Regions from separate parts of the Homo sapiens genome. Here regions 2, 3, 4, 5, 6 and 7 are each linked to region 1. Evidence: promoter capture Hi-C in human tissues and cell types (Jung and others, 2019). All regions are on one chromosome and are shown on one strand. The core of a region is centred on a gene start or on the middle of the fragment in contact, and the rest is flanking DNA. Distances in the headings are between cores, read along the strand shown.

Region 1 (2,958 bases), core at 176-2,675:
TTTTTTCAAAGAGAAGGGGCGATTAGCCAAACTTCTCATTTGGAGAAAACTTGCAACAGAGTCCCAATAAATCCTCCCACCCTTTCTCAATTCAGGGGACCCTAGTAAACCATTTTACATGTCGCCCAACTTTTCGTTCTCTGAAGATGCCCTGAGAAGCCCTTGACTGCAGCCAAGTGGAGAGGAGGGTTGTGGAAACATTATCTCCTTGCAAATCGCCTAGCAGCCTGCAAAGTGTATACTTAGTTAATGCAATTAAAAAACAAAACGCCGGGGCGTGGGGAGATCTAAATTTGGTGTAGCAGCTTTGGTGCAAATCCTGTTTTGGGGCTACTGGAGTCAAATTCAAGCAGAGGAGAGAAAGAGGTGGGAGAAATGAGAGAGGGCCTCCGGGGAGCTGGAATTCGCTAGGAGAGAGAGGGCAGATTTGGAAACACAGAGGAGACGGGAGGCTGGAAGCTGAGGAAGCAAGGCAGAGCTCTGCAGCCCCCGGTGAGGATTTCCGGGGGGATCCGTGGGGACAGGGGCCAGCCAGCTCCAGAGACCGATGCGCGGGCTCCAGGTCCGGGAGGGTGGCTGAGGCTGGGTGCCCAGGCCTTGCGCTGCGCCAGATCCGGGAGCGCAGAGGCGGCGCCGCGGTGTTCCCTCCTGTGGAGCGCAGAAAACGCTGCGGGGGCGAAGAGGGACAGAAAGCGGCAGGTTCGAGAGGCTGGGGGACTTCCAAGGAAAGACCTTCCAGGACACGCCATAGCCTCGGCCTTGTTCGGCTGTCCCCTCTTACCCCCGACCTTCTTTGATTCGTTCATCCCGAGCCCCTCTCCCCCGGAGGGTGCTTATCCCTGGCTCAGGGGCTTGCCACCTGTCCTTCCCAGCTCCGCCTGGGTCCTTGCTTGGGCCCAGAGAGTTGAGCCATGCGGGTTGCGCTCAGGGCTGGAGGGCGCAGCCGGGAAGGGCAAGGAGGCCCCGCACGCCTGGGAGGGGCGATCCTGACCAGACTGCACCCAGTCTGTCTTGGAGTGAAAGCCATTTAGTCTGTCCCCATCCTCTCCGAGTCATCCTTCCCCTGATGCACAGATTTCGGCCGCCGCTCCTGCACACGCACCGGTGAAAAAGCTACGAGCTGAGCCGCCTCTGCGCTCTGGACAGGGCTGAGCCGCGCCTCCTACCCAGAGAGGGCGCGGGAGGTCCTGCCGCGGTTTTCCACCTGCCTGGAAATCCGAGCGGCTCCTCTAGCCTCGGCTGCTGCCGAGCTCGCTCCTCCCCGTCCGCTCGCCTGGCTCAGCTCTGCACGCCCCCCAGCTAGCTCCCGCTCTAGTCACCTCTTCCCCGCGCCCCCGCCCCTCTAGAGCTCGCGCCCGCCCCCCCCCACCCGCGCCTCCTCTGCCCGCCCTCCTCCCCCTCCCCCTTCCCTCCTGCCCTCCCTTCATTCCACAAGTGTCGCTTCGCTCTCTTCAGCGCACTTGGCGAGCTGGTGAGGTGAGAGGGATACTGCGAGAGGGCTAGGGGCGGCCAGTCCGGGGCTGCCGGCCAAGGCTAGGCGCTGCCAGCCCGATTCTCCTCTGCTCTCCACCCCCGCCTCACCCAGTGGCCGGCCGGACCTGCACCCCGCGCTTGACCCCGCTCATCCTCCCCCCGCCCGGCCGGGCGCGCTCCTCCCCGGCCGGCCCCTCGGCGCGCGGCGCGCTGGAGGCGAACGCGGGCTGAGGCGAACGCGGGCTGAGCCGAGCGCAGTGGCCGCCGACCACCGAGCGCCCCGCGCCGCTCCCTGCATGTGCGGCCCGCGGCGGCTCGCAGCTCCCGGCAGCAGCCTCGGCAGCTTCGGCCGCGCCTCGAGAGGCGGCCGCAGAGGCTCCAGCGGCGGCCGAGCGGCCGAGCCCGGGCTGGGAGACACCATGCGCCGCGTCCTTCGGCTGCTCCTCGGTTGCTTCCTCACCGAGCTGTGCGCCCGCGTGTGCCGGGCGCAGGAGCGAGCGGGACACGGGCAGCTGGCGCAACTGGGCGGCGTGTTGCTGCTGGCGGGGGGCAACCGCTCCGGGGCCGCCTCCGGAGAGGCCAGCGAGGGCGCTGAGGCATCGGACGCGCCCCCGACCCGGGCGCCCACGCCGGACTTCTGCCGGGGCTACTTCGATGTCATGGGCCAGTGGGACCCGCCGTTCAACTGCAGCTCGGGCGACTTCATCTTCTGCTGCGGGACTTGTGGCTTCCGGTTCTGCTGCACGTTTAAGAAGCGGCGACTGAACCAAAGCACCTGCACCAACTACGACACGCCGCTCTGGCTCAACACCGGCAAGCCCCCCGCCCGCAAGGACGACCCCTTGCACGACCCCACCAAGGACAAGACCAACCTGATCGTCTACATCATCTGCGGGGTGGTGGCCGTCATGGTGCTCGTGGGCATCTTCACCAAGCTGGGGCTGGAGAAAGCGCACCGGCCCCAAAGGGAGCACATGTCCAGGTGGGCTGCCTCCCCTTCGCCCTCCCCTCGGGGCTTCGCTCTCCCTGCTCTCTCCTCCCCACCTTCCCCCAGGCAATGGCGCTCCCCACGGTCCCCGCTCCCCGCATCCCAGCCTCTCCGCTGGGGGATGTCACCGGGAAGCCAACTTCGGCTTGGAACACGGAGAAGGGGCGCTGGGCTCAGCACAGGTGTGGGTCTGAGCGTGTTCGTGTGTGTGTGAGCGTGTGTGTGTGTGTGTGTGACTCTGCTCCCTCACCCTCTGGCCGCCTCCTCCCGCTGGTGACTGAGGCGGACTTGAGACACGTAGCCTGGGAGCCCGTGGCCCCGAAATCTTCGGGTTTGGGGAGAGGGTCCATGGCACCCCTCGGATTCCAGGTGCTAGCTTTTTGGTAAACAGGGGCAGGCGAGCCCGAAAGGGGAGGGGGGCGTGTGTGAGCCCGAGCGCGCGTGTGTGAAGGAGGGAGGGTCAGAGTGAGTGCCGCCTGCAACTCGTACGACTCGCG
Region 2 (2,958 bases), core at 250-2,749, 490 kb after region 1:
CTTTCTTCAGTCTCATCTGTCAACATGCTTAGAAGGGTATGTGGCTTGTAACAAGCATGTTACAGTCATTCACTATTATGATTCCCCACATTTGTGTAGCACTTTTCCAGGTAGTTTCTGAGATCAGCACGCTGGGTGACACCACAAAATGGAAAGAAAGGCTTTGGGAGAAAGAAGATTTCATGGGCTGATGAAAAGAAATACTTAGGTGACTTCTCTTGGCTGTGTGTGTCTTCTCATATCTTTCACAAGAGGCAGTCTGAGATATCTCAGGCAACTGCAGGGTATGCATGTGGCATATCTTGATTTTCGTAACACTTTGGCTGCTGAATCTCCATTCCAACCATGGCAATCTGTGAAAGCAAGAATATTGAGGAGAAAAGAGTAAAGAAAAGGGGAGACAACATGAGAGAGAACAGGAGTGGAGAAAGAGGATGAGAATTAAAGAGAGGGTAGAAAAGAGTTGATAAGAGTGACAGTAAGAGGAAGAGAAGGCAAGAGATAGAGTGACATTCACTGAAACCATAAAGCAGTGTGTCCTGCTGAATAGAGTAAGTGAGATCAACATGAACCCTTGGAAAAAAGATGCTATAGCCCACATTATTGCTCCTTACATTAAATTGTACTAAATATAAGTCTATTATCTGCTTAACTTAGTCTTGGTATAATTCACTGTGCTGCTGTAGGCCTCAGTTTCCATCTGAGGTCTTGCCTTTGTAAGCAAAACTGTAGCTCTGTACAGCAGAGATTTAGCTCCTTCACAACTGAAAAAAGGCTAAAGAAAGGGAAAACAAGGCACTTGGTGTTACAGAGTTAGAGAGAAGAGATACTGAAGTATTATACTTGGAAGCAGCAAACAAAAATCAGTCCCCAACGAATCTATGCCGTGCCATCTGCAGTCAATATGCATTATTACAGTTACACAGATGGCTGGGTTCGGGGGGAGTTCCAAGCCAGTGGTTCTAGACCTTAGCAGTGCACTGTGATCACCTGAGAGCTTAAAAAACATCTCAGTGTCCAGGTTCCACCCTAGATCAATTAAAGGGTGGAATCCAGGAATCAATATTTTTGGAGGCCCCCAGGTGACTCCATTGTGCAGCTAAGGTTGCAGACCTCTGATCTTGGATAACCCTGGGAGCCAAGCAACAAAGTTTTTGAACTCTGTAACCTGACTGCAGGTAAAGTAGCTCAATAAATGACTGTACCTGTTGGGTAATAACGGTGGCAATTCAGGGACTGTCAGAGGACTATGAAAAGTCCATCTGTTTGGAATGATGCAGATTTAATCAAATGATATTCTTCAAAAGTGACTACCTCATTCTCAGACATTTGGTTTGCCCCGAGTGTCTGATGGTCCCGGTTTGCTGGTATCTGTTTATAGCCATCTGCTGCCAGTGATTGTGGAGGTGAGGAACAACGTGTTGCCAGCTGAGGTGTGCAGCAGGGCAGCTTTCCTACCTGGTTTTTTCCTGGGAGGAAAGGTATCTTCACCCCTGGGAGTAAAGGTACCTCGAACATCCTAAATACACCTGTTATGGATTAGTTGTGTCTTCCTAATATTCTTATGTTGAAGTCTTAACTCCCAGTGCCTTAGAATGTGATTGTTTTGGAAATAGACTCTTTGGAGCTGTGATTAGTTAAGATAAGGCCCTACTGGAGTGTGATGACTTGACAGCTCCCTTCTTTTTAGTTCTAGATAACAATCTATTTTTCATGGTAAAAGTGGAAAGCATTCCATTATGTACATGTATATTAAAACATTATATTGTACACCTTAAATATATACATTTAAAAAAGAAAACATGTTTCATTGTCTGGATGTACCACAGTTTATTGATTCACCTACTGAAGGATGTAGACCTTTTACTGAATTCAGTTGGGGCTCCATTTTACAGCCCAGGGACTACAGCATGGAATCAGCAGGTGGCGGCATTACAGATCACTTAGAGGTCAAACAGTCCCTCTGATTAACCTAGGCTCACAATGATGTACTCCAAAGCATAGGTCTTAGGTCTCTAAAGTCCCAACACCCACTGCGTTAAGAGGTTAAAGAAATAAAACCGATTTGCTGTGGAGGCTGCGATATGACTGGTGTCATATAAAATGGGGAAATTTGTACACAGAAATATGCACACACGGAGAACACTGTGTGAAGATAAAGGCAGAGACCATCTGCTTCTATTAATATAAACCAAGGAGCACCAAAGACTGCCTGCAAAGCACGAGAAGCTAAGGCAGAGGCCTGGAAGGGATTCTCTTACTCACAGCCTTAGAAGAAACCAATTTTGTTGACACCTTGATTTTGGCCCTCCAGAGCTGTGAGATGATAAATGTCTGGCTTTTAAGCGAAACAGGTCGTGGTACCTTGTTACAGCAGCCCTTGGAAACTAATACAACGCCCCAGGATGGGAGAACAAATTCTGCCCACTGATGGGAACCAAATGGAGGCTTTCAGGCCTGGGGGAAGGTGTGCCCTGAACCAATCAGCTGGCCCCATTCCAAACCTGCTTCAAACTGATCACACAGATGTTTGCTCCTGATACCCTCGTGCTCACTGTATCCACTGTTGGGGGATTGAAATACCCCAAGCAGGGCCAGCTCCACGGGTGTGTGACCTGTGCAGTCACACAGGGCCCACTCCTATTTTAATTCTCTGGTGTTGCCATCTTGAAATTCTTAATTTTTGAACAAGAGCCCAGCATTTTCACTTTGCACTGGGCCCCCCAAAATTGTGTGGCCATTCCTTTCCCCAAATGTCTCACCAACTTTCCCTCTTTCGATCAGATCCCATCTACTTTGTCTGAATTTCTTATTGTGTCTGATCCACTGATGTCACCCCCTTCTTGCTTTCAGTGATATTTTTGTAGAAGTTTCCTTTTTAATACTATTGTTTCTGTTATTTGTAGGGATTTGGGGCAGGAGGGAATGGCAGACGGGCACTGTGTCAGCCATCTAAAT
Region 3 (2,958 bases), core at 255-2,754, 470 kb after region 1:
TTAAGTTCTAGGGTACATGTGCACAACGTGCAGGTTTGTTACATATGTATACATGTGCCATGTTGGTGTGCTGCACCCGTTAACTCGTCATTTACATTAGGTATATTTCCTAATGCTATCCCTCCCCTGGCCCTCCATCCATGACAGACCCCAGTGTGTGATGTTCCCCACCTTGTGTCCAAGTGTCCTCTTTGTTCAATTCCCACCTATGAGTGAGAACATGTGGTGTTTGTTTTTCTGTCCTTGCAATAGTTTGCTCAGAATGATGGTTTCTAGCTTCATCCATGTCCCTACAAAGGACATGAACTCATCCTTTTTTATGGCTGCATAGTATTCCATGGTGTATATGTGCCACATTTTCTTAATCCAGTCTATCATTGATGGACATTTGGGTTGGTTCCAAGTCTTTGCTATTGTGAATAGTGCTGCAATAAACATATGTGTGCATGTGTCTTTATAGCAGCATGATTTATAGTTCTTTGGGTATATGCCTATTAATGGGATGCCTGGGTCAAATGGTATTTCTAGTACTAGATCCTTGAGGAATCGCCACACTGTCTTCCACAATGGTTGAACTAGTTTACAGTCCCACCAACAGTGTAGAAGTGTTCCTATTTCTCCACATCCTCTCCAGCATCTGTTGTTTCCTGACTTTTTAATGACTGCCATTCTAACTGGTGTGAGATGGTATCTCATTGTGGTTTTGAGTTGCATTTCTCTGATGGCCAGCGATGATGAGCATTTTTTCATGTGTCTGTTGGCTGCATAAATGTCTTCTTTTGAGAAGCGTCTGTTCATATCCTTTGCCCACTTTTTGATGGGGTGGGGTTGTTTGATTTTTTCTCGTAAATTTGTTTAAGTTCTTTGTAGATTCTGGATATTAGCCCTTTGTCAGGTGGGTAGATTGTAAAAATTTTCTCCCATTCTGTAGGTTGCCTGTTCACTCCGATGGTAGTTTCTTTTGCTGTGCAGAAGCTCTTTAGTTTAATTAGATCCCATTTGTCAATTGTGGCTTCTGTTGCCATTGCTTTTGGTGTTTCAGTCATGAAGTCCTTTCCCATGCCTATGTCCTGAATGGTATTGCCTAGGTTTTCTTCCAGAGTTTTTATGGTTTTAGGTCTAACATTTAAGTCTTTAATCCATCTTGAATTAATTTTTGTATAAGATGTAAGGAAGGGATCTGGTTTCAGCTTTCTACATATGGCTAGCCAGTTTTCCCAGCACCATTTATTAAATAGGGAATCCTTTCCCCATTTCTTGTTTTTGTCAGGTTTGTCAAAGATCAGGTGGTTGTAGATGTGTGGTATTATTTCTGAGAGCTCTGTTCTGTTCCATTGGTCTATATCTCTGTTTTGGTACCAGTACCATGCTGTTTTGGTTACTGTAGCCTTGTAGTATAGTTTGAAGTCAGGTAGCGTGACTTTCAAATAGAAAAAAGAAAACATCCAAAAAGAAAACTAAGAAAACAATTCCATTAGCAATAGCCAAAAAACAAAAAAACAAAAAACTTAAGAAATTAAGAAAAGAAGCCTAAGACTTGTACACTAAACACTACAACACATCACTGAAAGCAACTAAAGAAGACCTAAGTAAGTGGAAAGCTATCCTGTATTCATGGATAAGAAGACTTAATATTGCTAAAATGGCAACACTCTCCAAATAGATCTGAAGATTCAACCCAACACCTATCAAAATCCTAGCTCCCGTTTTTGCAGCATTTGGCAGGCTGATCCTAAAATTTATATGGGGTTTCAAGTAGCAAAATACAAGGGGTTTCAAATAGTGGGAAAAAAAAAATCTTAAAATTGGAAAACTCACGTTTTCTGATTTCAAAAGTTACAGCAATCAAAACAGGTACCCAGGTGATGGAAGAAGTCCATCTTGGACATTGATAATTGTGTTCCCTAGAAAAAAGAGAGAAAATGAAATACCACACAATGACTCTGAAAAATTCTGCTCATAATTGTTCCACATCATTTTGGTTCACATTCCAATGGCATAAGCACGTCATATGGCTAAAACATGGTTTCAATGAACACAAATGTATAATCCTCCCTTAGGGAGTGGCAGTAAATATTTTGAGCAATTATAATATGTTCAGGTGATATTTTAGATAGAGTCATGGCATAATAATTTGGAGGTCTAGTCACTCCTGGAGCCTGACTGATTCTCTGGAAGAATCTTCAGAAAGTGTGAAGATGATGTCAACACACTTATATGACTACATGCTTCTCAGCACATTTACAGCCAGGTGGGGAAATCCCATGTCAGCCCACTCACCTCTCTAATGTATCTGAAGTCATTTCAGCTTTTACCTCTATAACCAGAGCTGTTTTTTTCCAGAGAGTCCAAGAGAAAGTAAAGTTGCAGAAAATTGAATCAGGACCATGGCTATGAGCAAACACATGGATTTTTTTTATTTTAGATTGGTTAAAAATTAAATTTCTGTTTCCAGGGGTGGAGCTGAAAGAACATCCCTTATTCTGTAAATTATAGGGTGTTTATTTTCTTTCTTATCTTTTTGGAGACAGGGTCTCACTCCATTGCCCAGGCTGGAGTGCAGTGGCATGAACTCAGCTCACTGCAGCCTTGACCTCTTGGGCGATCCTCCCACCTCAGCCTCCTGAGTAGCTGAGACTACAGGTGCACACCACTATGCCCAGCTAATTTTTGTATTTCTTGTAGAGATGTGTTGCCCAGGCTGGTTTCGAACTCCTGCACTCAAGTGATCCACCCGCCTTGGCATCCCAAAATGCTGGCATTACAGGCATAATCCATCATGCCTGACCATGATAGGGTATTTGTATCAAAAAAGACAGATTCCCTAAAGGAAAGTTAATGAGAAAAAAACCTTTAATGCTGCTTCCATCCTCTCAGGAGGAAGAATTGCGGGAAGGGTTACAGCATCTCACCACCCAACGAGGGCACACTGCATACCAGTGGTGGAGAAATGGGTGA
Region 4 (2,958 bases), core at 325-2,824, 460 kb after region 1:
TTATATTTGATGAAAAAGAGCCTAAACGCTTCTGATTTGGGATAAAGAAAAAGGAGCATTAACCTTGACTGTGCCTTTAGCTCCAGCCACCTTTTTAAGAGTAAATTGCTGGGCAGGAGGGGGAGGGCTAGTCACGGAACGAAACGGTAAGCCAGACCAGGTGTGAGGAGGGGAGGTGATAAAAAGATTATAGGGTGGAGGAGCAGAGGCTGAGGAAGGATTGGGACCTAGCTCGGCCTGGTGAGGAGCAGCCTGGGGAGGAAGGGAGGGGTCAGATGGGTCTGTAGAAAAGGAAGATTAGAAAGACTCAGCGACGCTTGGGGTTGGTTCTGAGGGGACAGGTGGGAGGGTAAGAAGGAAGATTTGGGACAAGTTGCACTGGGCACAGAGACTAGGAAGGGACTGATGTGTAAAAGAATGCCTGGACGTCAGGCACCTCAGACCGTTTGCCTATTTTACGACAAGAATTATTTAGATTTTGCAGGATGGAAAAATTCAAAGTGCCATTTTCTGGCTATTTGGAACTACCGTCGAGTTTGTATTGGGGTCAAACGGCATTGCAGAAGAAAAGGCATTTAGGTTTTAGGTCAGGTGTGAGTTGAAGAGGTTTTAAGTTTTTGAGAACACAGGCTAAGGGAGAAGAAGGAGGAATGGAAGGTGGAAGCTTACCTATAGTGAAGGAGGCAAACCCACAGAAAACAGTAGAGACACGGAGAAGGGGTGGAGGGTTCTTGCCCTCCAGAAAAGCAGAGAAGGGGTTGGGGCACGGAAATAAGGGATTGGGGCACAGAGATAAGAGGCTGGGGTGCGGAAATAAGCGACTGGGGGGTTCTTGCCCCCTAGGAAAGCGGGACTTGCCGCTAAGGGTGAAGTCCGTGACCGGCGCCGGAGTTTTGGGTTCACGGATAAAACATGTCTCTTTTGTCTCTACTAGAAAATGAAAGGAATTGAAATTAAGAGAAGGGAGAGATTGAAGTGTGGCGCTAAGATTGAAAGGAGAAAGAGGTTGAGGGATAGTGAGGGAGGTTGGAGAAGAGAGTAAAAAGAGGCCGCTTACCGGATTTGAAATTGGTGAGATGTTTCTTGGGCTGGTGGGTCTGAGGACTTGAGGTCGTAGGTGGATCTTTGTCACGGAGCAAAGAGCAGGAGGACAGGGGATTGGTCTCCTAAGGGAGGTCCCCCGATCCGAGTCACAGCACCAAATTTCATGCGCGTCCGTGTGAAGAGACCACCAAACAGGCTTTGTGTGAGCAACATGGCTGTTTATTTCACCTGGGTGCAGGCGGGCTGAGTCCAAAAAGAGAGTCAGCGAAGGGACATAGGGTGGGGCCGTTTTATAGGATTTGGATAGGTAAAGGAAAATTACAGTCAAAGGGGGTTTGTTCTCTGGCGGGTAGGAGTGGGGGTCGCAAGGTGCTCAGTGGGCAGGAGTGGGGGTCGCAAGGTGCTCAGTGGGGGTGCTTTTTGAGCCAGGATGAGCCAGGAAAAGGACTTTCACAAGGTAATGTCATCAGTTAAGGCAATGACCGGCCATTTACACTTCTTTTGTGGTGGAATGTCATCAGTTAAGGTGGGGCAGGGCATATTCACTTCTTTTGTGATTCTTTAGTTACTTCAGGCCATCTGGGCGATATATATACGTGCAGGTCACAGGGGATGTGATGGCTTGGCTTGGGCTTAGAGGCCTGACAGTATGCCTCTGTGATGGGTACGGCCTCCCTTGAAAAGAGAGAATCTTCCTTCATCCAGCAAGTTTTAGCAAGTGGAAAGGGTAGCAATTGGCCCTCACTACTAGCTATGATTGGTAGTGACTATCTGGGATACTGGGGTGAGAAGGATTCTGAAATCAATGGACTAAAAGACCTGATTGATTAGTGATGTCTACCTGGGAGCATGAGGTGCTATATTTGACATCTGGGTTTTGAGTGAGATACCTGTATTCAAATCCTGGTTTTAAAAGCTTGGGATTTTGGACTTTAAAAAGTCTCTCTTCTAATGCTGTCCCTCCCTTTGTCCCCCACCCCCCAACAGGCTGTGCTGTGTGATGTTCCCTTCGCTGTGTCCACGTGTTCTCTCTCATTTTCTTAGATCAGCTACCTAATCTGTTACCAACCTAAGGGGATTACATAAAATATTCCGTGAGGATGTTGCTGGCATAAGTAGATGCTAATACAATTCCTCTATCTCTTCCCATTTCCTTCCCTTTCCTTTACATTCTTCAGGACCCAAAAACCGTAAGAGAGTATTCTCTTTTCAGAATTTTCACCAATACATTCAGCATAATTGTAAGTGCTTCAACCAACCAGTGAAAGGCCTCCAGATAGAGAAAGATGGGAACCCCTCTCTGCCTTATACCTGACCAACATAAGACTGTTGACAGTTATGAGTTCCAGACATCAACAGCAGCTGTAATAACCTTTCTCTTGGCTGTTTTCAGCAGAGCCATAAAAAGATGAACATGATATGATTGACAGGCCTAGAAGACAGGGTGTTTTTAGGACCAAATAGTGTTAGAAGGACCTGCTGGAATGAGGAATACAGGAAAAGACCTCAATACACTGTGTATGGTACTGAACTTAGCAGATTACTGATGGAATTTTTGGAATACCTCCTCAGAGGCATGAAGCCTAGAACTTTAATAGCTCTGTATTCCTGAAGGTAAAGAATTTCTTGATTAGGATGAGAAATGCAATTCCCATCCGTTGGACTTCAACTGAAGAAGAATGTCCAGTTTTAGATTCTCCAGAAGAATGTCCAGTTTTAGATCCTAGTCTGCAAAACAATAAATCTTCAAAATTCCAATAATTAGTACTGAGGAGAATCAACTTGTTAATACTGTTGCCATTTTCACTGTAATATTTTTTGGGGGGAGGTCAAGGCGGGGTGGATCATTTGAGGTCAGGAGTTCAAAACCAGCTTGGCTATCATGGTGAAACCCTGTCTCTACTAAAAATACTA
Region 5 (2,958 bases), core at 250-2,749, 430 kb after region 1:
TTTAACGTACCAAGCCAGAGTCCTACCAGCCTTTCTCCCTGCCCGCTGCACTAGAAGTGTAAGCATGTCCTTGCCTGGGAGGAAGGGAGCCGAGAGCCATGACCTGGCATGAGTTGGGTCTTTTGGGGGTGGACCCTGTACTTTTTAGTTAGTAGATTAGCAAGCTCATGAAAAGGCATAGCCACGTGCGGTGTCTCATGCCTATAATCCCAGCACTTTGGGAGGCCGAGGCAGGTGGATCACCTGAGGTCAAGAGTTCGAGACCAGCCTGACCAATATGGTGAAACTCCATCTCTACTAAAAATACAAAAATTAGGTGGCTGTGGTGTTGTGCACCTGTAATCCCAGACACTCGGGAGACTGAGGCAGGAGAATCACTTGAACCCAGGAGGCAGAGGTTGCAGTGAGCTGAGATCGAGCTGCTGCACTCCAGCCTGGGTGACAGGGCAAGACTCTGTCTCAAAAAAGAAAAGGCATAGCTCTTGCCTTTCTTTGAGCCTCAAGATTGCACTTTTTTTTTGAGACAGGGTCTTGCTTTGTTGCCCTGGCAGGAGTGCAGTGGCACGATCTCTACTCACTGAAACCTCCGCCTCCCGAGTTCAAGTGATTCTCGTGCCTCAGCCTCCCAAGTAGTTGGGATTACTGGCCCCTGCCACCACGCCTGGCTAATTTTTGTATTTTTTTAGTAGAGACAGGGTTTCTCCATGTTGGCCAGGCTGGCCTTGCACTCCTGACCTGGAGTGATCCACCCACTTCGGCCTCCCAAAGTGCTAGGATTACAGGTGTGAGCCACTGTGCCCCGCCAAGGTTGTACTTTAATACTTGTGTCACCTAAAATCTTTCATCGTACTCATAACAACATCATGCGCATTTATTAGCTTTGCGCAAGAAATCTGTTTTTGAAATGCATGCAAAGGGAGAGCAACTGCCCCTCCCACTCCCCTAAATACAGATATTTCCCATTCCCCCTCCTCTTAATTTCAAACTCGGCCTCGAGCAGGGGCCTCTCACCATCACTTCTTCTAGCCCCTGTGCACTTCTACAGAATCTTAGGCAGACTGGAGTAGATTAGAAAGGGAAGAAAACATAACTCCTAAATGCCAGCTCTCTAGTAAGAGTCTGTTTCTAGTTAGAGTCTATTTTCGCCCTGGACAACACCAGTGTGATTACAAGTGCAAGGTCTGCAGATTCAGCTACCCACCAGGGGGTTTGAACCTCCCCATGTTAGCAACATTTTTCTTTTCCTTTTTCTTCTCTTTTTCCTTTTTTTTTTTTTTTAAGGAATTTTACTCTTGTCACCCAGGCTGGAATGCAATGGCGTGATCTTGGCTCACTGCCACCTCTGCCTCCCAGGTTCAAATGATTCTCCTGCCTCAGCCTTCTGAGTAGCTAGAATTACAGGTGCCCACCACCACGCCTGGCTAAATATATGTGTATACACACACACACACACACACACACACACACACACACACACACACATATATATTGTATTTTTATCAGAGACGTGATTTTGCCACGTTGGCCAGGCTGGTCTTGTACCCCTGACCTCGGGCGATCCACCCGCCTCAGCTTCCCAAAGTGCTGGGATTACAGGTGTGAGCCACCATACCCAGCCTAGCAACATTTTTCATAAGAGGCAGCCTACTGCACTGGTGATATAGGAGTTAAGAAGAAATTATTTAGGCAGATAGTGAGAATACAGAAGTCCTCAGTAACATTTTCCTTTCAATGAAAAGCAGCCCCCAAATCATTTTTTTTCCCTAACAAGGAGCACCCTGTAAAATTGAGCTGCAGACATAGACAAGCGAGCTGGAAGCTTGCACCGTTGAATGCCGGCAGTTGTGCAAGTAGAAAATGGCTGCCTGGGACTAGGCAGGTTAAAAATGGCGCCTCCATCTTCCCTTCTTTTTGCTAAACCTCATGTACAGGAAGGAGAAGACAACATGACGCTGGCCAGGCAAAGGCCCCATTTGCATAATAAGATTGGGGTAGGGCGACCAGCCTTCCCTGCTCGCTAAGTAAATCACACACAGCCTCCTCAAGCCTGCCTGTAAAATCAGGAGCAGTCTGCTGCAGGCTGGTTTTTCCTTTCCGGCGCCCCTCTTTCTTGCAAGCGAGAGAGCTGTTCTCCTTTCTCTTTCTTCTATTAAACCTCCGCTCCTAAATTCACTCCTTGTCTCCTTGTGTGTGTTGGCATCCTCATCTTCTTGGGGCAAGACGATGAACCCTGGGTATTTACCTCAGACAATGACACTGCCTTACTGGGTTAAGGATACAGATTAAAATCCATGTGCTAGGTTGCATTGTTGATCCTAATTCTTCACCCCTCCCTCCAGCCACATCATTTTCCTTGTTGACTTTTCATTTTCTTCCCACTCCTCTAATTTGAGTTCTGCTATGTCACTCTCTTTAGGCAACAGAATAAGCTGAGGTGATGTAAAATTCCAAGACTACTCCTTCCCAGGCCTGTGAGTTTCCCTTTGCCCTCTTGCATCTCCTCCATGCTAGGAGAATAACATGCCCAGGACAACCTGCTGGATGAAAAGAACAGCAGAAAGGTAGAGCCATGCCAGTGAATTCCTAGCCCACCCCTAGCCAACCTGCAGACCTTGAGCTAAATGATGGCTTATTGTTGCGTCCGTCCTGGAAAGATATTTGGGGTTGTTTGTTCGGGTTCAATTTCTTGACTTTTCATGAAGAGCTAGAACTAGATGGTTCTTAAGGATAGTTTTAGCTCTGAAATCATGCAGTTCCTCAGATATCCAATAAATCGTCCCCCAGTATCTTTGCCTTGAGCATTAATTATATTGTATTGTAGGAAACATATCAAGTGTCTGCCTCCCCGACCGATTGTGAGATCCAGGTGGATCAGCCATGGCTTACTCATCTCTGCAGCACAGTGTCCATCTCAGGGCTAACACATTGTAAGTTATCAGTTAATGTTTGTTGTGGGAA
Region 6 (2,958 bases), core at 185-2,684, 410 kb after region 1:
GGGAGGTGGAGGTTGCAGTGAGCCGAGATCACGCCACTGTACTCCAGCCTGGGTGACAGAGAGAGACTCAGTCTCAAAAAAAAAAAAAAAAAAAGAAAGTTGGAGAAAAAATAGTTAACATGCCAGAGGGATATATTTTTAACTCTTTTATGATTTGTGAGGTGCTGTTCTCAGTGCTTAGAAAGCTAAGATTCTAGATAATGGGTCATGACCACACTCTTGGGAACACTAGACCAAACCTAAAACAACAAACAAACAAAAAACTCCAAACAAAATCCAAGTTCTGTATTTTATTTATTTATTTACTTATCTATTTATTTATTTATTTATTTATTTTGAGACAGAGTCTCACTCTTGTTGCCCAGGCTGGAGTGCAATGGCACGATCTCGGCTCACTGCAACCTCTGCCTCCCAAGTTCAAGTGATTCTCCTGCCTCAGCCCTCAAAGTAGGTGGGATTACAAGAATGCGCCACCATACCTGGCTAATTTTTATATTTTTAGTAGAGATGGGGTTTCACCATGTTGGCCAGGCTGGTCTTGAACTGCTGACCTCAGGTGATCCACCTGCCTCGGCCTCCCATAGTGCTGGGATTACAGGCGTGAGCCACTGCTCCCGGCCTGTTCTGTATTTTAAATGCCAAATCAAGAGAAAACAAATTTTAAGCTTTTCCATTCAACTCGTGTTACAGTTATAACTGAATTCAAGGACTGGAGGTGGGCTTTTAAAAAGCTGCTTTTTTTTTTCTACTATGAAACATTTAGGACATAAAAAATGTTTAAAGAACAGTTTAGTGAACATCCAGATATTTATCACATAGTTTAAGAAATAAACCCCATGAATTCATTTGAAGGTCTTTGTGTGTTCCTCCTCTGCCTTATCCCACTCTCAACCTACAGAATTGCTATCTTGATTTTTACGTTATCATTCCTAGAGGTGTGATTATTTAATAGGGGCATTCTAAGTCAATAAGGTTAGGATGAAATAAAAGCCATCATGTTGAATCATGTGTCTACTGAAATCCTCTATCTTGAAGGACTTTTAGCAAAAAATTAGAAATGTGAATGTTTGGTCTAAATTCTCCACTGCATTATAATTAATGTCATTGATTTTTATGCTTTTTTTTTTTTTTTTTTGAGACGGAGTCTTGCTCTGTCACCAGGCTGGAGTGCAGTGGTGCAATCTCGGCCCACTGCAACCTCGGCCTCCCAGGTCCAAGCAATTCTCCTGCCTCAGCCTCTCAAGCAGCTGGGACTACAGGGGCCTGCCACCATTCACAGCTAATTTTTGTATTTTTAGTAGAGACGGGGTTTCATCCTGTTGGCCAGGATGGTCTCAATCTCTTGACCTCGTGATCCACCCACCTCGGCCTCCCAACGTGCTGGTATTACAGGCGTGAGCCACCACACCCGGCCTGATTTTATGCTTTAACATTCACATCTTCTACTGAAGGACTATCTTCTAAGGATGATTTCAGGTTGTAAGCAGGAGTCCATGTAAAACCCAAGAGTGAGAATGCAAAAAGGGATTGCAGGGCCTAGAAGATACTCTGTCTCTCGTTTCTGCTTCTCTGTCTGCCTGATTCTTCTTGCTCTTCATGCAAGATTTCTCCAAAACAAAGACATTCATAAGGCTACCAGGTTTAGCAAAAACTTTATAGATACATATATATTTTATATATTATGTATCTCGTATATATGTGTTTGATGCTTGATTACATTTAAATTTCCGCTAAAGAATAAAGATTTTTAGTGTTCATCCTACGCAATAACTGGGTGTATTTACACTAAAAATATTTCATTGTTTATTAGAAATATAAGCTTAAATGAGAATTCAATATTTTTTTCTGCCAACCCTAAATAGCTTTTACAAATATACGTCTCAAGCCCAGCCCCATGTAGAGACTCGTTTTCTCTTCCTTTTAACTCCTGGGAGGGAAAAGACTCTGATTGGTCCAGCCTTGGTGGGTTTCAAGTAGCTTGGGCTGAGTAATGTTGATTACACAGTGCTACTAGAAGACTACCTTTGTGGATTAAGGCAGCAACTACAGAGGGTGATTGTGAGCTGGGATGACATACAATGTCCACTCCAGACTATCTGTATTTACTTCGCTTTCAAATAAATGGAGATTGTTCTCGTTGGTTCCTTCTCTCATTTCTCTTAGGAGGCAGTGTTATGTGGCAGGTAGGAACACAGACCCTGAATTTCCACTTCCAAGCGTGATTCCTTCCTCTACTACTTACCAGTTACGATTTTGTGCAAGTCAACTTCCTTATATGTAAAAACGAGATAGATAATAATAGTAACTATAGGATTGCTGTGAAAATTAAATGAACTAAAATAGGTAAAGCACTTAGAACCCTGCCTGTAACATATTAAAATTATACAACAGTTTATTATTTTTCTCCTGAGAAAAGTGTATGCCCAGTGGCTTTCAGGAAGGATGTCCAGGAAGAGAGGGGGACAATCTAACTGACTCACTTGGTTTTAAAACCAGTGTATACCAACTTTAGGCTTATTCTTCAAAATATTTTAGCCCAGAAGTCTACTAATATTTCTGTAAAGGGTCAGATAGCAAATATTTTAGGCTTTATGGGTCCTGTGGTGTTTGCACAATGCCCCAAGTGTGCTGCTGTAGCATGAAAGCAGGCATGGAAAATTTATAAGCAAATGGGTGTGGTCTTGTTTCAATAAAACTTTATTTACAAAAACAGACAGTGGGCCAGATGTGGCCCATGGACAGTAGTTTGTTAACTGCTCCTGTAACCCTTCTGGCATCACTCTTTTTCCCACTTTTCAAAGAATCAATTGAAACTAATATAAACTAATCCTCCTGTCCCCCCCTCAGTCATGGATTTCACAGACACTGAATGACGACTGCCTTGAACACTTGCTGAAAATCAGTTTTACAATATGCTAAGAGCCTTAAAACTGTAGAGACCATTTATTAGTTTGACAA
Region 7 (2,958 bases), core at 153-2,652, 350 kb after region 1:
AGCTCCATGGGGGTAGAAATCTTTGAGTGCTCCCATATGCCCTCCACCTACCACGGTACCTGGAACATAGGCATTCAATAAATATTTGTTGAATGAATTAATGAATGAATGAAAGGAAATACAGTTGACCCTTGAACAACATGGGTTTGAACTGTGTAGGTCCATTTATACTTGCATTTTCTTCTGCCTGTACCACCCCTGAAATAGCAAGACCAACTCCTCTTCTCACTCCTCTTCTTTAGCCTCCTCAAAATGAAGACGATGAGGATGAAGACCTTCATGATGATCCACTTCCACTTAATAAATAGGAAATATATTTTCCCTTCCTCGTGATTTTCTTAATAATAACATTTTATTTTCTCTAGCTTACTTTATTATAAGAATACAGTATGTAATACATATAACATGCAAAATGTGTGTTACTTGACTGTTTTATTATTAGTAGGATTTCTGGTCAATAATAGGCTACTACTAGTTAAATTTTGGAATAGTCGAAAGTTATATGCAGATTTTTGACTGTGTGGGGGTAGGAGTTGTTCAAGAGTCAACTGTATCGTGAGGCTGAGGTTTGAGGTGCATCTCTTCTACTATCATGTCAACGTCATCAGTGCTTATGGGAACACCTGTCCAAAGGTACAAGGGAGATGGCAGTGTGTGTTAGTCTGTTCTCCACTGCTAATAAAGACATACCGAAGGCTGGGTAATTTATATAAGAAGAGGTTTAATGGACTTACAGTTCCACGTGGCTGGGGAGGCCTCACAATCATGGTAGAAGGTAAAAAAGAAGCAAAGTCGAATCTTGCATTGTGGCAGGCAAGAGAGCTTGTGCAGGGGAACTCCCATTTATAAAACCATCAGATCTCGTGAGACTTATTCACTATGGCAAAAACAGTATGGAGGAAACCACCCCATGATTCAATTATCTCCCACAAGATCCCTCCCACAACACATGAGAATTATGGGAGCTAAAATTCAAGATGAGATTTGGGTGGGGACACAGCCAAACCATATCAGAAATATATCCACTTGGGCATTAATTATCCATGGACAGGAGTATTATGAAACGTCCCCATAAGGTCAAAAGGTGACACATTTCATCCAATTTATTTTAACATTCACCAAGATTAGGAAGAGAAAAATAAGACATTACTGAAGGTTACTTTTTTTTTCACTTTTTAAAAATCCTTCCACTTCCTGTTTTCTTCAGGGAGACTGAAAAATGTCTTCTCAAACATTTCTCATTATCAGAACTTAACAAAAATTCTAATTAGGGCTACTGCACACTTCAGTGGTAGTTTTCAAAATGGAGCTCTGGCTTCATCTTTGTCAGGCTGCCAATCTTTTCTATCCTTGCCAAAGATGCCCTCTATAATAATAATACTAATAATTACCATTTATTGAAAGTCTACTATGTGCCAGGCAATTTGCATACATTAGCAGTTGTCTTCACACAAATCATATGAGGTGGGAACTATTAACCCTAATTTTAGATGAAGTGATTTGCCCAAAGCCAAGCAGCTAGAAATTGGCAGAACTGGGATTCAGACTCAAGTCTATCATCTGGTCCAAAACTTTCCATGTCCAGCCTTCACAGATTTAGGGGAGAGAGAAGATAAGACAACAGGACCACTTGTCACTGCTTCCAGCATGACCATCAGTTCCAACCGGAGGGTTTGTTACGAGTTATTATGTCACCAGCCTTGGTTGCTAGGTCTCTCTGGGAACAGAGTTTAGGGAATCCCAGGAGACTCTGAGACACCCAATTAGAAAGGCAATAATAGCAGACTTGAGAATAGACTGATTGCTTATTCATTATTCTTGTTATTTCTGGACTTTTCCATCCATCGTACAGCGGGCTGTCAGCAATTACCATGACGTTCTTTCCAGAAAGGGGCCTCTTGGCCCCACTAATCACCTCCCCCAGAACCAAATAGAGTCTTTCAGGTGGCAAATTCTTCAGAAGCAACATCAAAATGCTCCTGTCTTTGGGGCTTCCCAGTGAATCCTCAGCGGACACCTTGGGGCAAAGTGAAAGCACTGGACTTCAACAAATGAAGAAACAGTCCCTTCCGGGCTTGTTAAGTGCCAGGAGCCTTGTTGAGCAGGTGTTGCCCAGAGGCGACGTGGTCTTGTAATGGATCAGTAGATTAATACCAAGTAGCAGAGGATCAGGCCTGAACCTGAACTTGAGCTGTTTGAGCAGCAGGAAAGTATCTGTTCCCCTCACCTCCCAGGAGGAGCTTCTTTAATTTTTTTTCCTTCTTTCTATATCATCCTCTTTTTCTTCTTTGCTCCTCTATCTAATAACACTGCAGACTTGGATACCTGGCTTTAGCAGGTGGAGGACATCACTGATGCCTGTTACGTCCCCTAACCTCTCACTGCTTTCTCACACTTCCTCTTCTCTCTCTTGCTATGGTTCTACTTTGACTATATCTTTCTCCTTCATGCTCCTTTTCCTCTCTGTTCCTCTTCCTCTCCCTCAATTCTTCCCCTTTCTGTCTCTCTCTCTCCCTCTCTCATTCTCTTTCTGTCTAGGCATCTTTCTTCCTTTTTGTTTCATGCATTTCTCATCCTCTGAGATCTGCCTTTCTCTGAAACACATTCTCTCTGTTTGACCTTATGTCTCTTCTCTCTTGCCCTCTATCTTTGGGACTCTGTGTCTCTTTATGTGTGTGTCTTTCTCTTTCATATACATACAAAGGATTCATTCTATCTTTAGGTCAGTTCACATTAAACCATCACTGCCATCTTTCACTCCTACTTCTGTTGTCTAAAAAAAGTACCATTCAAGTTCAGAAGGCAGAAGTGAAATCCAGATCTGGCTGATTCCAAAGCTTGTGATGTTAGGAGCTGCCTCAATTTCCTTCTTCCTTACCTTCCACATCTAAATCTATTTCCAGTCCCTGCAAATTTCATGCTCTAAATATTTCTTGAACATTAATTCTACCTCCCAAT

The links. Contacts are between HindIII fragments. The study calls those that stand out against the background at their distance.
Region 2: a contact is called between a fragment that was not itself captured here and the fragment with the promoter of SHISA9 in region 1, in 4 of the 25 tissues and cell types used here (dorsolateral prefrontal cortex, hippocampus, lymphoblastoid cells and 1 more).
Region 3: a contact is called between a fragment that was not itself captured here and the fragment with the promoter of SHISA9 in region 1, in 3 of the 25 tissues and cell types used here (bladder, lymphoblastoid cells and mesendoderm cells).
Region 4: a fragment that was not itself captured here is called in contact with the fragment with the promoter of SHISA9 in region 1 in 6 of the 25 tissues and cell types used here (H1 embryonic stem cells, dorsolateral prefrontal cortex, hippocampus and 3 more).
Region 5: a fragment that was not itself captured here is called in contact with the fragment with the promoter of SHISA9 in region 1 in 2 of the 25 tissues and cell types used here (mesendoderm cells and thymus).
Region 6: a contact is called between a fragment that was not itself captured here and the fragment with the promoter of SHISA9 in region 1, in 5 of the 25 tissues and cell types used here (H1 embryonic stem cells, dorsolateral prefrontal cortex, lymphoblastoid cells and 2 more).
Region 7: a fragment that was not itself captured here is called in contact with the fragment with the promoter of SHISA9 in region 1 in 4 of the 25 tissues and cell types used here (dorsolateral prefrontal cortex, heart right ventricle, liver and 1 more).

The regions. Positions count from the first base shown.
Region 1 is chr16:12,900,173-12,903,130 of GRCh38, forward strand. It overlaps SHISA9 (shisa family member 9), which reads left to right and starts at 1,426. Exons shown (of 5, transcript NM_001145204.3): 1 at 1,426-2,455. The coding sequence starts at 1,893. The HindIII fragment of the contact is 6,671 bases long and covers 1-2,958 here.
Region 2 is chr16:13,390,624-13,393,581 of GRCh38, forward strand. It overlaps a transcript of SHISA9 not described here. Among named protein-coding and RNA genes, the nearest start is that of SHISA9, 490 kb to the left of the region's middle. RefSeq lists an enhancer at 39-88. The HindIII fragment of the contact is 6,176 bases long and covers 1-2,958 here.
Region 3 is chr16:13,374,188-13,377,145 of GRCh38, forward strand. It overlaps a transcript of SHISA9 not described here. Among named protein-coding and RNA genes, the nearest start is that of SHISA9, 470 kb to the left of the region's middle. The HindIII fragment of the contact is 5,336 bases long and covers 1-2,958 here.
Region 4 is chr16:13,356,371-13,359,328 of GRCh38, forward strand. It overlaps a transcript of SHISA9 not described here. Among named protein-coding and RNA genes, the nearest start is that of SHISA9, 460 kb to the left of the region's middle. RefSeq lists an enhancer at 1,035-1,981. The HindIII fragment of the contact is 3,925 bases long and covers 1-2,958 here.
Region 5 is chr16:13,327,155-13,330,112 of GRCh38, forward strand. It overlaps a transcript of SHISA9 not described here. Among named protein-coding and RNA genes, the nearest start is that of SHISA9, 430 kb to the left of the region's middle. The HindIII fragment of the contact is 4,216 bases long and covers 1-2,958 here.
Region 6 is chr16:13,309,568-13,312,525 of GRCh38, forward strand. All of the region lies in intron 2 of LOC107984137 (a long non-coding RNA gene), which reads left to right. It also overlaps a transcript of SHISA9 not described here. Among named protein-coding and RNA genes, the nearest start is that of SHISA9, 410 kb to the left of the region's middle. The HindIII fragment of the contact is 3,497 bases long and covers 1-2,958 here.
Region 7 is chr16:13,252,746-13,255,703 of GRCh38, forward strand. All of the region lies in intron 1 of LOC107984137 (a long non-coding RNA gene), which reads left to right. It also overlaps a transcript of SHISA9 not described here. Among named protein-coding and RNA genes, the nearest start is that of SHISA9, 350 kb to the left of the region's middle. The HindIII fragment of the contact is 4,487 bases long and covers 1-2,958 here.